Linked DNA regions of Homo sapiens: region 1 is linked to region 2. Evidence: promoter capture Hi-C in human tissues and cell types (Jung and others, 2019). All regions are on one chromosome and are shown on one strand. The core of a region is centred on a gene start or on the middle of the fragment in contact, and the rest is flanking DNA. Distances in the headings are between cores, read along the strand shown.

Evidence for each region. The method cuts DNA at HindIII sites, captures the fragments that hold promoters and counts their contacts. A contact is called where the count stands out against the background at its distance.
Region 1: a contact is called between a fragment that was not itself captured here and the fragment with the promoter of PITPNB in region 2, in 1 of the 25 tissues and cell types used here (dorsolateral prefrontal cortex).

Annotation. Positions count from the first base shown.
Region 1 is chr22:29,133,626-29,140,227 of GRCh38, forward strand. KREMEN1 (kringle containing transmembrane protein 1) reads left to right here. Exons shown (of 9, transcript NM_001039570.3): 6 at 3,717-4,049; 7 at 4,999-5,157. It also overlaps the pseudogene RNU6-810P. Among named protein-coding and RNA genes, the nearest start is that of KREMEN1, 64 kb to the left of the region's middle. The HindIII fragment of the contact is 6,321 bases long and covers 1-4,728 here.
Region 2 is chr22:27,914,171-27,920,505 of GRCh38, forward strand. PITPNB (phosphatidylinositol transfer protein beta) reads right to left here and starts at 5,086. Exons shown (of 12, transcript NM_012399.5): 1 at 5,002-5,086; 2 at 147-177. The coding sequence starts at 5,021. TTC28-AS1 (TTC28 antisense RNA 1) reads left to right here and starts at 5,206. Exons shown (of 5, transcript NR_026963.1): 1 at 5,206-5,375. RefSeq lists enhancers at 4,286-5,271, 5,272-6,256, 5,427-5,606 and silencers at 4,537-4,856, 5,047-5,116. The HindIII fragment of the contact is 4,438 bases long and covers 3,642-6,335 here.

The DNA.
Region 1 (6,602 bases), core at 318-2,817, 1.2 Mb after region 2:
TGTCTAGGTGTGTCTTCTTTGTCTGTTTTTTTTTGTTTGTTTTTTTTGCTTTTGTTTTTGTTTTTAATTTTTTTGTTTGCTTGGGTTTGCTGAAATTCTTGGATCTGTAGTTTGTCACCTTTTACTGATTTTGGAACATTTTTCACCATTATCTCTTCAAACATTTCTTCTGTTCCATTCTTTTTTTCTTCTTTTGGCACTGCAATTACACGTATGTTAGACTATTTGATATTGTCCTACAGCTGTTGGGAGCTCTGTTCTCTTTGTTTCACTTTGTTTTCCCCTTTGTTTCATTTGGGGATAATTTCTATTGACCTGTCTTCATGTTTATTGATTCTTTCCTCAGCTGTGTCTAGTATCCTGATAAGCCCATCAAAGGAATTCTTCAGTGCTTGCTTCAGCAGCACATATACTAAAATTGGAACAAAACAGAGTATATTAGCATGGCCCCTGTGCAAGGATGACATGCGAATTCATGAAGCATTCTATAATTAAAAAAAAATTCATCTCCAATATTGTTTGATTTCCAGTAGATTTTTTTTTTTTTTAAGAGACAAGGTCTCACTCTGCCACCTAGGCTGGAGTGCAATGGTGCAATCATAGCTCTCTGCAGCCTTGACCTGCTGGGCTCAAGTGATCCTCCTGCGTCAGAACCCTGAGTAGCTGGGACTGCAGGCACACACCACCATGCCTGGCTAATTTTAAAATTTTTGTAGAGATGGGGTCTCACTGTGTTCCTCAGGCTGGTTTTGAACTCCTAGCCTTGAGAGATCCTCCTCCCGTGGCCCCTCAAAGTGTTGGGATTACAGGCATGAGCCACCATGCCTTGCCTCCAGTAGATTATTTACCGTATTCATCATGTAGTCTCTGTCTGATCGTTCTAGCATCTGGGTCATCATTGAGTCTAGTTCTGTAGATTGTTTTAACAATGTCTTTCCCCCCTCCCACCCTTGCTTTTATATGTGTGTTGTAATTTTTTATTGAATGCCATATGCTATGTATAGAAGAACACTAGGGGCTGAGATAGTGTTTACACCTGGGCAGATCTGCATAGTGTAGGGACTGAGCCAGTCTATCAGAAGTTGAGCTAGGTTGTTTCTATCACTACCCTCAATGCACATCAGGCTTTAAATTCCTCCAGTGACGGGCTGCTATCAGCTTGTGCTTAGTGTGGAGCCTAGAGTACCCGTGAGTTTTCCTCAGTAGCCCTGTTCCATCCTCAGCTTTGAGGAGTTCCCACATGCCTGTGCCACAGAGGGGCTCCTTCTCCACCCTCTTTCCCTCCCTCAGTGGTAGGCTATGGCTGTTTGTTACCTGGCTGTACTCATGGTGAGGTCATGGAGGTGGTTCTTGGTTCTCCTGCCCTGTCCTCAGTCTTAGACAGGATGTGTAAAGGCCACCAGCCTGAGGTCTTTTCAGCATTCCCACACCCTTCTTCTCTCCCTGGCAGCCAAACACTGCCTTGCGTCTGTGGTGGATCTTGGGAAGGAGAATTTCTTGCCCTCCCTCCAGGAGTAGTAGAGCTCTGCTTTGCATCGGCTGCAGTATCCTGGACTCAAGAGGGCTCAAGGCAATCAGGGACCAATGGCTTTTGCTTCTGTTCTTCCCCTAGAAGCAGTGAATCTTCACCTGGTTACTTTGATAGGAAGGGGAATTTCAAGGAGGCTGAAATTTGGGTTTGTGAAATGGTGTTTGGTATAGACTTTTCTAGTCAAATCAGGTCTACTCCCTCCCCCAGAGGCAAACAGATTTTGCTTCTGTCTGTTTTCAGTGGCCCTGGGAGTAACAGGATTTGCTTCCCCTCTCCCAGCTGCCGAAGGCTTTTACTTTCTTAGAGAGGAGAGTCCCTTCCTGCAAGTGTGAAGAGAAGGAAGTGGGCAGTATTCCATTCCTGTCCGCCAGTGGCAGCCTGTCACCTCCTGCACACTCATGCCACTCAGGGGGACTGTGGTCTGCTGGCCAACCCGAGTCACTTGTGAAAGCACTGAGTGGAGGTCTGTGCAGAAAAGCTCACAAGTGAGTGCAAAATGCCCGTTGTGTCTGGGACTCCCAGTTGCCCTAAGCTGAGACACTAGCCCACTCTCAGCCTTTAAGAGTTTGTTAAAATTTTAGTGCTTTCTTGTTACTTCTCTGGCGGTCACCTCTTCCTCCTGTGTTCTCTCAAAGATGAAACTGTTTGTGTGGCCTGACTCTCCTTGATGGGGCTTTGATTTTGTAGAATTAAGTTCCCCTGGTTGTCATGAGACCTCAGCTGAGTTTTAAGCTTTTTCTCATTGTTAGGATAGAAGCAGCATTCACTTGTTGTTGTTGTTTTGAGACAGAGCCTCACTCTGTTGCCCAGGCTGGAGTGCAGTAGCGTGATCTCGGCTCACTGCAACCTCCAGCTCCCGGGTTCAAGAAATTCTCCCGTCTCAGCCTCCCTAGTAGCTGGGACTATAGTCACACGCCACCACGCCCAGCTAATTTTTGTATTTTTAGTAGAGACGGGGTTTCACCATATTGATCAGGCTGGTCTTTAACTCTTGACCTCAGGTGATCCACCTGCCTTGGCCTCCCAAAGTGCTGGGATTACAGGCGTGAGCCACCGCGCCCGGACTGCTTGTTGTTTTCTACATCCTAAAGGGAACCAGAACTCCCCCAAAGCCTGCTTTTTAAATCCTAGCCCTGGCCGGGTGCGGTGGCACATGCCTATAATCCCAGCACTTTGGGAGGCCGGGACGGGTGGATCACGAGGTCAGGAGATCGAGACCATCCTGGCTAACACGGTGAAACCCCATCTCTACTAAAAATACAAAAAAAGTTAGCCAGCCTGGTGGTGGACACCTGTAGTCCCAGCTACTCGGAAGGCTGAGACAGGAGAATTGGTGTGAACCCAGGAGAAGGAGGTTGCAGTGAGCCGAGATCACACCACTGCACTCCAGCCTGGGAGACAGACGGAGACTCCTTCTCAAAAAAAAAAAAAAATAGAATCCTAGCCCTACATTCCCTCCCAAGGAGTTTCAGTTCTAAGATCTTGTTTACATTTCACCATGTAAGACAGGAAATCACTGCATCCCCTTTCTAGAACATGCCTATCAAAAACAGGAGTCCAGAGAAAGCAAATGTGCCCAGTACAGAGTGCTCAGAATCTAGCATGTTTCCTCACTGCAGAAAGTCATTTCTTGTGCTGCAGTTTCCCTGCTTGAAAACGTGGTCCCTCATGGGAGCGTTGCATGGGTACTGGGGACACACAAGCAGCTGTAAAGCCCTTCTCTTTTGACAGCTTTACCTCATCGGGTGGCTTCCCTGCAGAGTGGCCTGAGTGGTTCGTGTGCTTTGTCTCATGTGCCATCACACATTCCCGTGATACAGGAGCAGATGGTGCTCTCTCCAGCCTTGAAACTGAGAGAAGCAAGAGGCCCGCGAGTGAAGTGCGGCCCCTGCCATCACTTGGCCCTGCCAGTCCCAAGTCCAGACTCTCTGACTCCAGCCCTGCCCCAACCTAGGCCACACCACTGTGCTGTGTGCTAATTCTAAGGTCTCTGGGGGGAAAAACATCTCCACAGTCATTTTTCGAGAGTCTCAGCGATTCGTTTTGTGACTGTCAGGTTTTACAGATAGAAACAATGTCCTAAATGGGATCCTGCTCGTTAGGAAGGCTTTAGTGCCTTGGTGTTGGAAGCGCGCCTGTGGCAAAGGCCCAGACTGAGGGCGTGGTGTCTTTTTCTCTCCTACAGCTCTCGTGGGCGCCTGCGGTGGGAACTACTCAGCCATGTCTTCTGTGGTCTATTCCCCTGACTTCCCCGACACCTATGCCACGGGGAGGGTCTGCTACTGGACCATCCGGGTTCCGGGGGCCTCCCACATCCACTTCAGCTTCCCCCTATTTGACATCAGGGACTCGGCGGACATGGTGGAGCTTCTGGATGGCTACACCCACCGTGTCCTAGCCCGCTTCCACGGGAGGAGCCGCCCACCTCTGTCCTTCAACGTCTCTCTGGACTTCGTCATCTTGTATTTCTTCTCTGATCGCATCAATCAGGCCCAGGGATTTGCTGTTTTATACCAAGGTAAGACATCTTTGCCTCCTTGGGGGTTCTTCAGGGCCCACGTGCCTTGGGCTTCTCTTCTTCACCCTTGTGACTTGGGCAGTTCTTGCGGGGCAGATTGGGCCTCAGGAACTACTGACTCAACTTGCAGATCACCCCGAGGCTGTGGCTCCTTCCCTACCCCCATTTCATAACTCATTTATGTTTCATGAGACAGAAAAGAGGTGAAAACCTGTCAATTTGGCTATTTTAGTAGGTCTAATGACAGTTTTCATGGGAGGGTTAAAAGAATTTAAAAAAACAGAATAACTAAAAGGAACAGCTGAGACTGGGACAGTTGGAAGGTTATCAAAAGGTCATCTGGTCCGTCCTCCTTCCTCTAAACATCCTAGCTAATTCCAAAAGACTGGCTTGCCATCTTCAAACCCTGCTATGATGGAGCCACACTCTCTGCCTCTGTAATGTGAGCACATGTGTGCCGGGCACATCTCTTTGCCAGGACACAAGAAACACAGAAGGTGTTTGAGACATTGTCTTTGTCCTGGATAGCAAACCTCAAGAAGAGTTCAGGTAGTGTGTGCTCCAGGAGACCCATGGGAAGAGGCCCTCTCTCCAGGTGGGACAGTCTTGAGGAACAGGTAGCATTTGGATCAATAGGAAAAAAGCGAACCTTCCAGGCATAGGGAGCCATAGCTGCCAAGTACAGGGGCAGAGAAGCTGTAAACCATGCCCAGGTGTCTGAGATGAGACTAGCCACATTCTGTGAAGTTGACAGGTTCATCCTTCTGCCTTCTAAAGGGTGACAGCCTGACAGGTTCTGTTTTGGGGCTGGTGGGACCCACCTATGGAAGGAATTGCACCCAGAATTGAATCAGAGAAGAACTCTTCTTCATAACTCGTGCTCTCCTCCCGCACAACTCTTTGTTGTCTCCATAGCCCTGTCCCCAGTTAATTGCTTTTTCTCTTCCAGCCGTCAAGGAAGAACTGCCACAGGAGAGGCCCGCTGTCAACCAGACGGTGGCCGAGGTGATCACGGAGCAGGCCAACCTCAGTGTCAGCGCTGCCCGGTCCTCCAAAGTCCTCTATGTCATCACCACCAGCCCCAGCCACCCACCTCAGACTGTCCCAGGTAGCAATTCCTGGGCGCCACCCATGGGGGCTGGAAGCCACAGAGTTGAAGGTAGCGCTCTTGACAGTTATAAAGACAAAAGCACTTGGGTGTTTCTTATTCAGAGGCAGGTTGGGATACTGGCTCTGTGACCTATAGTCTGTCCTGGCTTTTGAGGGAAATTTTCTTATTAGCTTGGTTCCTTAGTCCTGAGGGAAAAGTGCTCACCTCCAAAAATTAGGCAAGCGTGCCTTTTGTACATTGTGACTAATCAGCTAATCCCGTATTTTCCCACATTGAGATTATCTTTCTAGAGCCCCACATGGAAACTCCCTAAATCCACTGGCATTTGCAAGAACTCCATTCATTCACTCACTGACTCATTCATTCAAAAGATATATAAGTGCTTCAGTGGTGCCAGGCACTGTTCTAGGTACTGGATTATAGAGTGAACCAAACACAACCCCTGCCCTTCTGTGGCGTATAAATGAGAGGAGAAAGATAGAAAGCAAAATAAAAATCAGATAATGATAAGAGCTATGAAGAAAAGTCATGCAGGGCCAGGTGCAGTGGCTCATGCCTGTAACCCCAGCACTTTGGGAGGCCGAGGCAGGAAGATTGCTTGAGGCCAGGAGTTCGAGACTAGCCTGAGCAACATAGGGAGACCCTTTCTCTACAAAAAATAAAAAAAATTATCTGGGTGTGGTGGTGCACGCTTGTGGTCCCAGCTACTTAGGAGGTTGAGGTGGGAGGATCGCTTGAGCCCAGGAGTTCAAGAATGCAGTGAGCTATGATTGCACCATTACACTCCAACCTGGGTGACAGAATGAGACCTTGTCTCAAAAAGAAAAGAGTAGAAAAATTAGCTGGGCGTAGTGGCACATGCCTATAGTCTCAGCTACTCGGGAGGCTGAGGCAGGAGGATTGCTTGAGCCCAGGAGCTTGAGGATGCAGTGAGCCAAGGAAGTGATGCCTTTATGAGCTGGTAGAACTGGAAAGTATCCTCAGTGGTGACCTAGCCTGGAGGCTTTCAAATTGCCCTGGGCCCCTGCAGGACCCACCATAGAAGGTCAGGGAGAAGGGCCTGTCCAGCACTTCCTGTGCGTCATTAGGCTGTGGTTCTCATAGGTAGCATCTCATAGGTCACATATCTCATTCCTCGGATGAGGAAACTGAGGCCCAAAGAGTTTACATAACTCCATCTGTGGTTACACAGTGGTCCCAGTGGCAGAGACAAAATGCATGTCATCCCTTTAGATTCTGAGTCCAATAGACTTTGGATCATCCTGTCTGCCTCTCCCTGAGAGTGACTTGTAGAACAAAGGGAAATATTCAGAACACCTGGGGCCCCATGCTTAGCCTGGGTCAGCTGCTCCTGAGGCTAGGTTTGCTAGCTGCCCTCCCACACCGGCCTGCAGGGAGCCCCTCAGCCAGACTTACTCACTTGGGTATTCCAGCCGACCTCC
Region 2 (6,335 bases), core at 3,836-6,335:
TTTGCAATTATCATTCATATAATTAATTTTGTCACATAAGGTGGAATGAAAAGGTAAATCAATACTACGAAAATGTGAGTTTAGAGTAACATATCAAAGTACAGTACATATACCAATAAAATGATGCAGAAGCAAGAAAAACTCACCTCCTGAACAGAACATGGCAAAACCACACGGCTAAAAAGACAAAAGAAAAAATATATATATTACATATGAAATAGCTTTAAACACAGATCTCTGAAGAGGTTTTACCTTAAATCCAATGATAACAGAGACAGGTCTCTTAAATCAAAAAAATACAAGGGTGTCATTTATGGAAGAGGGTCTTTGCAATGCCTACACCATAATTGGGGAACTAAAACTATCATTCCTGGGTCTCAATGATCATTTGCATTTAGTGTTCCCAGGACCCCAAACAGCAGCTGCAGAGATTCTTGTGAGTAAAGAAAAAAGAGAAAACTCAACATTGAAAATTGCAGGGTACAGAACGTATTATTTGCAGATTGTCTGGTCAGGTTGCCCTGACTAAATTTTTAGTATGGTTTCATTCTCCACCTATATACTGTGCATTTTGTTTTTATGATGCTTCTTACAGAATACGTGTCTTGAATCTCATTGAATAAACGCTTCCAGAAACTGTTCCCCCACTATTCAATTATTCCTCAAGTTTACTAAGAGAAAAATAAGGAGTCGTGTAGAATTAGTAAGAAAAATTTTACTATGGAAACTACTTGAACCTTATAATAATCCCTTCCAGCATATATACAATATAAGGTTGACATGTGTTTCATCCTGTCCAAGAGTTTCTTATTGTATATACCAAAAAGATGTCATTATAGCTCCATTGCAAGCAGTCTTAAAAGATAAAATCCAAAACAGTATCATGGTATATTGTTTTATCAAAATATTGCATCTTATCTCTAGATTTTATAAGGAGAGTCCTTAATTTATTTCCACCATAAATCCTGAAAACCAAGAACATCCCTGTATATCAATGGTCTCATAATTATAGTTGGTTCCAAGACAGCAACTTCCTTTTTTGTGGGATGGGGGTATACGATCCTTCTCATACTTTCCTAATCTTATCTGTCATTTTATGGAAAATTTTCAATAGTTTTCCTCATTCCAATTTCTTTTCAGCTTATAATTTCTTTTTCTTTTTTTCTTGCAGTAAGAGTCATTTAGCTTATTGTTTGTATTAGTGACAATCTTTTTGGCCTAGGCATTCTTTTTTAATAGTCTTTCTTATTCGTAAGTATGAAGAGAGTAATAAAACCCAGATTATATCTAGTTTGCATTCCAGCTACACTTTCCATCTACTCCTTTCTCCCTACTCTCCTCAAACATCTATGTCTGAATGTTCACATTACCTCAATCTCCAACATGCACAAGTCTGTTACTCCCTCCCCTTTGACTACTGAGTTACTCGCCACTCTTTGTCTTTCTGGTAACGGTGATTCAAAAACAATGAACACTCTCAAATCCACAATGGTCACTAATTTCTACTCTCCATCAAGAATAAACTTTTTGTAAGTCCTTCTATACCTAAAAATTCCGAATCATTTCTCTTCTCAGTATACACTAACTTGCTCACTGTCCCAGAGCATAAAATGAGGGAGAGGAAGACTAGAAAGCTATAGGTTGGGAGCAGATTATCAGGACCTGGAATACTATGGTAAGAAATCCATTAAATTCATCAGGCAATAAGGAATCCCAAAAGGTTGGTCCAAGAGGTAAGTGACAACTACTGCTGACCTGAAGAAGTCATCTGCAGGTGGTTGAAAACACTGACAAGCAGGAGAAGTGGGGAAAGCTATCTTTTGGGAGGCTAGGCAAGAACTGTCACAAAGGCCTGAACCAAGATGATGGACTGCAGAGGGAATGGAAGGAAGGGATAGAGAAAGAAGAGTTAGTCTTCCCTTAAGTTTCACAAAACCAAAGAATCACTGCTGAGTAATTTTACACTCACTAACAGGAAGATCCCTATTTTTATTTAAGAACACTTTCAAGGAAATTCTTTCAAAAAATTAAAGTGACTGATTAAGACATTCAGAACAATGAGTCAAGTAACTTCTTCAAGATTTGCTTAACAAGTAAAAGGGAAAAGGAACATACAGGCTTTGATTTTCTGTTGTTATTCTAAAAGCAGTATTCAACTTTCAGTGCCAGTTGAAAATGTTCAAATGTCTGAAAATCCTCATAAAAATAATTTCCAAATGGAATCAGTAACTAGTTCTTTAAAACCAGGACTTTACATTAATGGTAACTTCATCTACTGCTTAAATAATAACTTGAAGGGAAACAGCCCACCTCGAAAGTCATTTCTAACATTTTAATTCTTATAAAAAAATAAATAGAGGGCCAGGTGCGGTGACTCACACCTGTAATCCCAGCACTTAGTGGGCGGATCACCTGAGGTCATGAGTTCCAGACCAGCCTGGCCAGCAGGGTGAAACCCTGTCTCTACTAAAAATACAAAAAATTTAGCCGGTCATGGTGGCGTGCGCCTGTAGTCCCAGCTACTTGGGAGGCTGAGGCAGGAAAATCGCTTGAACCTGGGAGGCGGAGGTTGCAGTGAGCAGAGATCATGCCACTGCACTCCAGCCTGGGCAACAGAGACTCCGCCTCAAAAAAAAAACATAAAAATAAAAAAGAATTTTATAAGACAACAAACATTTGCCAAAGTATTTTAGTTACCAATATCTTCACATAGGAATAAGCTATTCATTGCTCCTAACCAACAAGAATTTTAGAAAGTTGACTTGAGAGTAAGAAGTATCAATTTTTCATTGAACAACACTGAATTCTTTAGAGCATGTTAGGCCTAGATGCTGTGCTAGATACCGACATTACTTAAGAAACAGCTTCTACCTTCAAAAAGTCTAGGAGGAAAAAAAATCTAGGGGAGATACACATGAAGAGTTAACATCAAGAAACTTAATTTATAACTCTTTGGGAAAAATAATTAGACTTTGGGCACGTGTCAACATTCATTATCTGGGTACATTTAAATCTTCATAATGAAAGCAAATGTTTGCAAAAAGCACAGTGCGCAAATTCCCAATAGGAACTGCTTTCCAAGAGTTAGCTTCATACTACTCACATACTGTCAAAGGGATCTACTGAATACTGTGTGTCTGTAACACTTTTGGAGGGAGGAAATACTCCAATGAAAGAAAAATGACTGGATCTATTTAAAATCAGTTCTGCAACTCACTTGCTGTGTAACTTGGTCCAAGTCAATTTCCTTCTTATTTTCTCCATTTGTTTTAGTGTCTGCCACCCATCTACCCACATCATCTAGAAGTCAGAGTAATGAACACTTGTTTGATACACTGTATAAACGACTTGGAAGAAAAGTTTTATATAAACCCAATATTCAGTACTATAAATAAGCTTTAATTGAGAATTTTCACTCTACCAAAAAAAGGCAAAATGTCTCTTCTCAAAATCCCTGTCACTGACCAAAGTTATCATTTTTCATCAATTCATTAACAAATATTTACTGAGCACCTATTACATGCGAGGGACTATTCTAAAAACTGGGGATATGAGAGTGAGCAAAACAAACTCATGGCCCTTACATGTAAAAAGAGAACACAACTAGTAGGAGAAAAATAATAATAATAAATTGTATTGGCATGTTGGATGGTGATAAGTACTATGGAGACCGATAAAGCAGGGAAGACAAATACCACCCCAAATAGTGGGAACTACAATTAGGTCTTCAGAAAGGGATTCCCTGAGAAGGTGACGTCTGAGCAAAGACCTGGAAGAAGGTGAGTTAGTGTGCCAAGGGAAGAACACTTCAAGCAAAGGGAACAAAAGCAGGTGGAAAGGTCTTGAACTGAACTTATTCTAGAGTAGCAGAGGAACAGCAAGGAAGCTTGCGAAGATGGAATGGGCAAGGAAAAGGTAGTAAATGAGATCAGGGCAGGAAAAAAAAGTGTAAAGCCTTGTAGCTGTTGCAGAGGCTTTGACTTTTATTCTGGGTGAGACAGGGAGTCTTTGGGAGGTATTAAGTCTCAGAGAAGTGCATCAGTGACTTTTTAAAGGAGGTTTAAGAACACTAAAAATAAGGTGTCTGAAAAAAGCTAAATTAAGCCAAAAATATTTCTAAGAATTTAAAATGAAGAATTTGAAAACCAACGAATGGGCCATACTCGACCTCCCTAGCTGCCCAAAGGATGCTGACGACACGAACCAGCTGTGACAGACGAACATTCAGAGGCAAGCAGATTTCCGTAATGTTTACAGTCCTTGCCAGTAGGAAAAGCCGTGACTTTTCAACAAAATCACTTGGCCAGTCGGATGCACCTCGAAATCCCTCCATTTGACAGAGCACGTGTTAACTTCTAAGAAAGTAGGTGGGGCCCGGGATGTCACCTCATCTTAAAACATGCGGAAACCAAAAAGAGAAAAGGCTCTCCCGTCAAGTCAGCGGAGCTGCCCAGGAGAGCGGAGGCTTTCCGGAATCCCGGCTCCACCACGAACTTCAAGGCGCCAGCGTCCCACCGCGAGTCCTGACACGAGGGCTGCCTTCAACCGGCAAGCCCATCTCCCGCTGGTTACCAGGGGACTCCACCCCGGACGACAAATCACAGTCAGAACCAACGTGTCTCTCCCACCCTCGGACTGCGGCTCCTTCCCACCGGCGGGCCTGGGGGTGGGCCCAGACCCAGCCTGGGGGTGGGGGGTTGGGGAGAAGGCGGGTCCCAGCGGAAACTCCCGGCCGCGCCTTCCCGAGCCATGCGCTCGGGCCGGGACCCAGCCGCCTTCGCCCCGGGGAAGGGAGAGGGCGTGTTACCACGGCAATGCCTGGAGGGCCGAGGGGCGCACTCGCTGAGGGGCTTCGAAGGGGCCGGGGGAGGGAGGGGGCGCCCGCAGGGAGGGGCTGACACAGGGCTGACTCCGATTTAGGAATATCCTACCACTTCTCCATCAACAAATCTCCCATCACTGCCGTCCCACGGCCTCGCTCGCGCCCACAGACCCACTCACAATTCCTTGATCAGCACCATCTTCCCGGAACCCCCTCACAGCTGCCGCCGATACCACCGCCGCCGCCGCCGCTACCGCCTCTCACAGCGCCTGCGCGGCCCCGCCTCCCTGCCCCCCCGAGCCACCATCGCGCCTGCGTGCTTACACCCTTCCGCCGCGACCAGTCGCGTCAGCGCGCGAGGGGGCCTAGCTCCGCCCAGTTTCGTGCCCCACCCCGGGCACACGAGGCCTCCACTGCGGTTGCGCAGCCTGCCGAAGAGCGTGCGGCTTCTACTGCGGCTGCGCAAGCTCGACGCGCGCACTCTTGTCTGCTTACGAGGGCTCCTCCCTTCAGCTTTGGTCCCTCGGGGCGTCTGGGCAGCCTACGCTTTCCGGTGAGTTTTCCAGTTGGTTCTTTGGAAGCCGTTTTGCGGTGACTGGTTTTCTGCTCTCTCTCACTGCTCCGAGTCAGGGCCCACCTCCTTGACCGACACCTCACCTCCATAGTCCACATAAAAGACTCCTGACAGGTTCTGGAGGCAGCCGACGCCAGCTTCTGTTCCCCTCCCCAGCCCTTGGCAGCTCAGGTTCCGCGGGAGGACGTTCACCTGCTTCGCGGTCTCGTGGAGGTCCACCGCGGCGGAGAATCCTAAACCTCACCTGTGACTCGGCAGGATGAGCGGCCAGCACTCCCGACGGAGGCCCTCTGGGAGAAAAGAGGCCCTTGGCCTCGAGACCCAGGAAAGCGGGCTGTTCAGGAGTTGGTTCGCGCAGTTACACCGAAAGCGCCGTGGGCCTCAAAGCCGCAGCCCGGAGGTCGCTGGCTTGCTCTGTGTCAGACACGGTTCTAGGCAGTGGGGATGCATCTAGAAGCAGACACAGTCCCTGTTCTCAAGAAGCTCACAGTCTAGAGGAGACAACTCACTTGGAAAGAAAGCAGGGAGAATTTGGGGTGGTGGGGAAGTGCTATGCTATGAATACAGTGGAGTACTGGGAGAAGCAGAGGACTCAAGACAAGGGCTGTCTTAGGAGGCGGTGTTTGAGCCTAGCCTGTTAGGATGTGAGAGGGGCATTCCAGTTGGAGGGAAATATGACCCGAGGATGGAGTAAGCCTAGGGTGTTCAAGGATCAGCTAGAGGGCAGATGTGGCCAGAACATCCTAAGTGAGGGTGGGAAATGAGCTGGGACCAACTGGATTACTAGGCCATAGTAAAGAATTTGTCTTCTAAGAACCATGAGAACCTGTTGAAAGGCTATTAAGACGATTAAAATATCACGAAAACATTTTTGTATAAACATCTGGTGTATCTGATAGTGGAATACATCTGTGGAGTTAGGGCTGCCTCCAAAAAAAT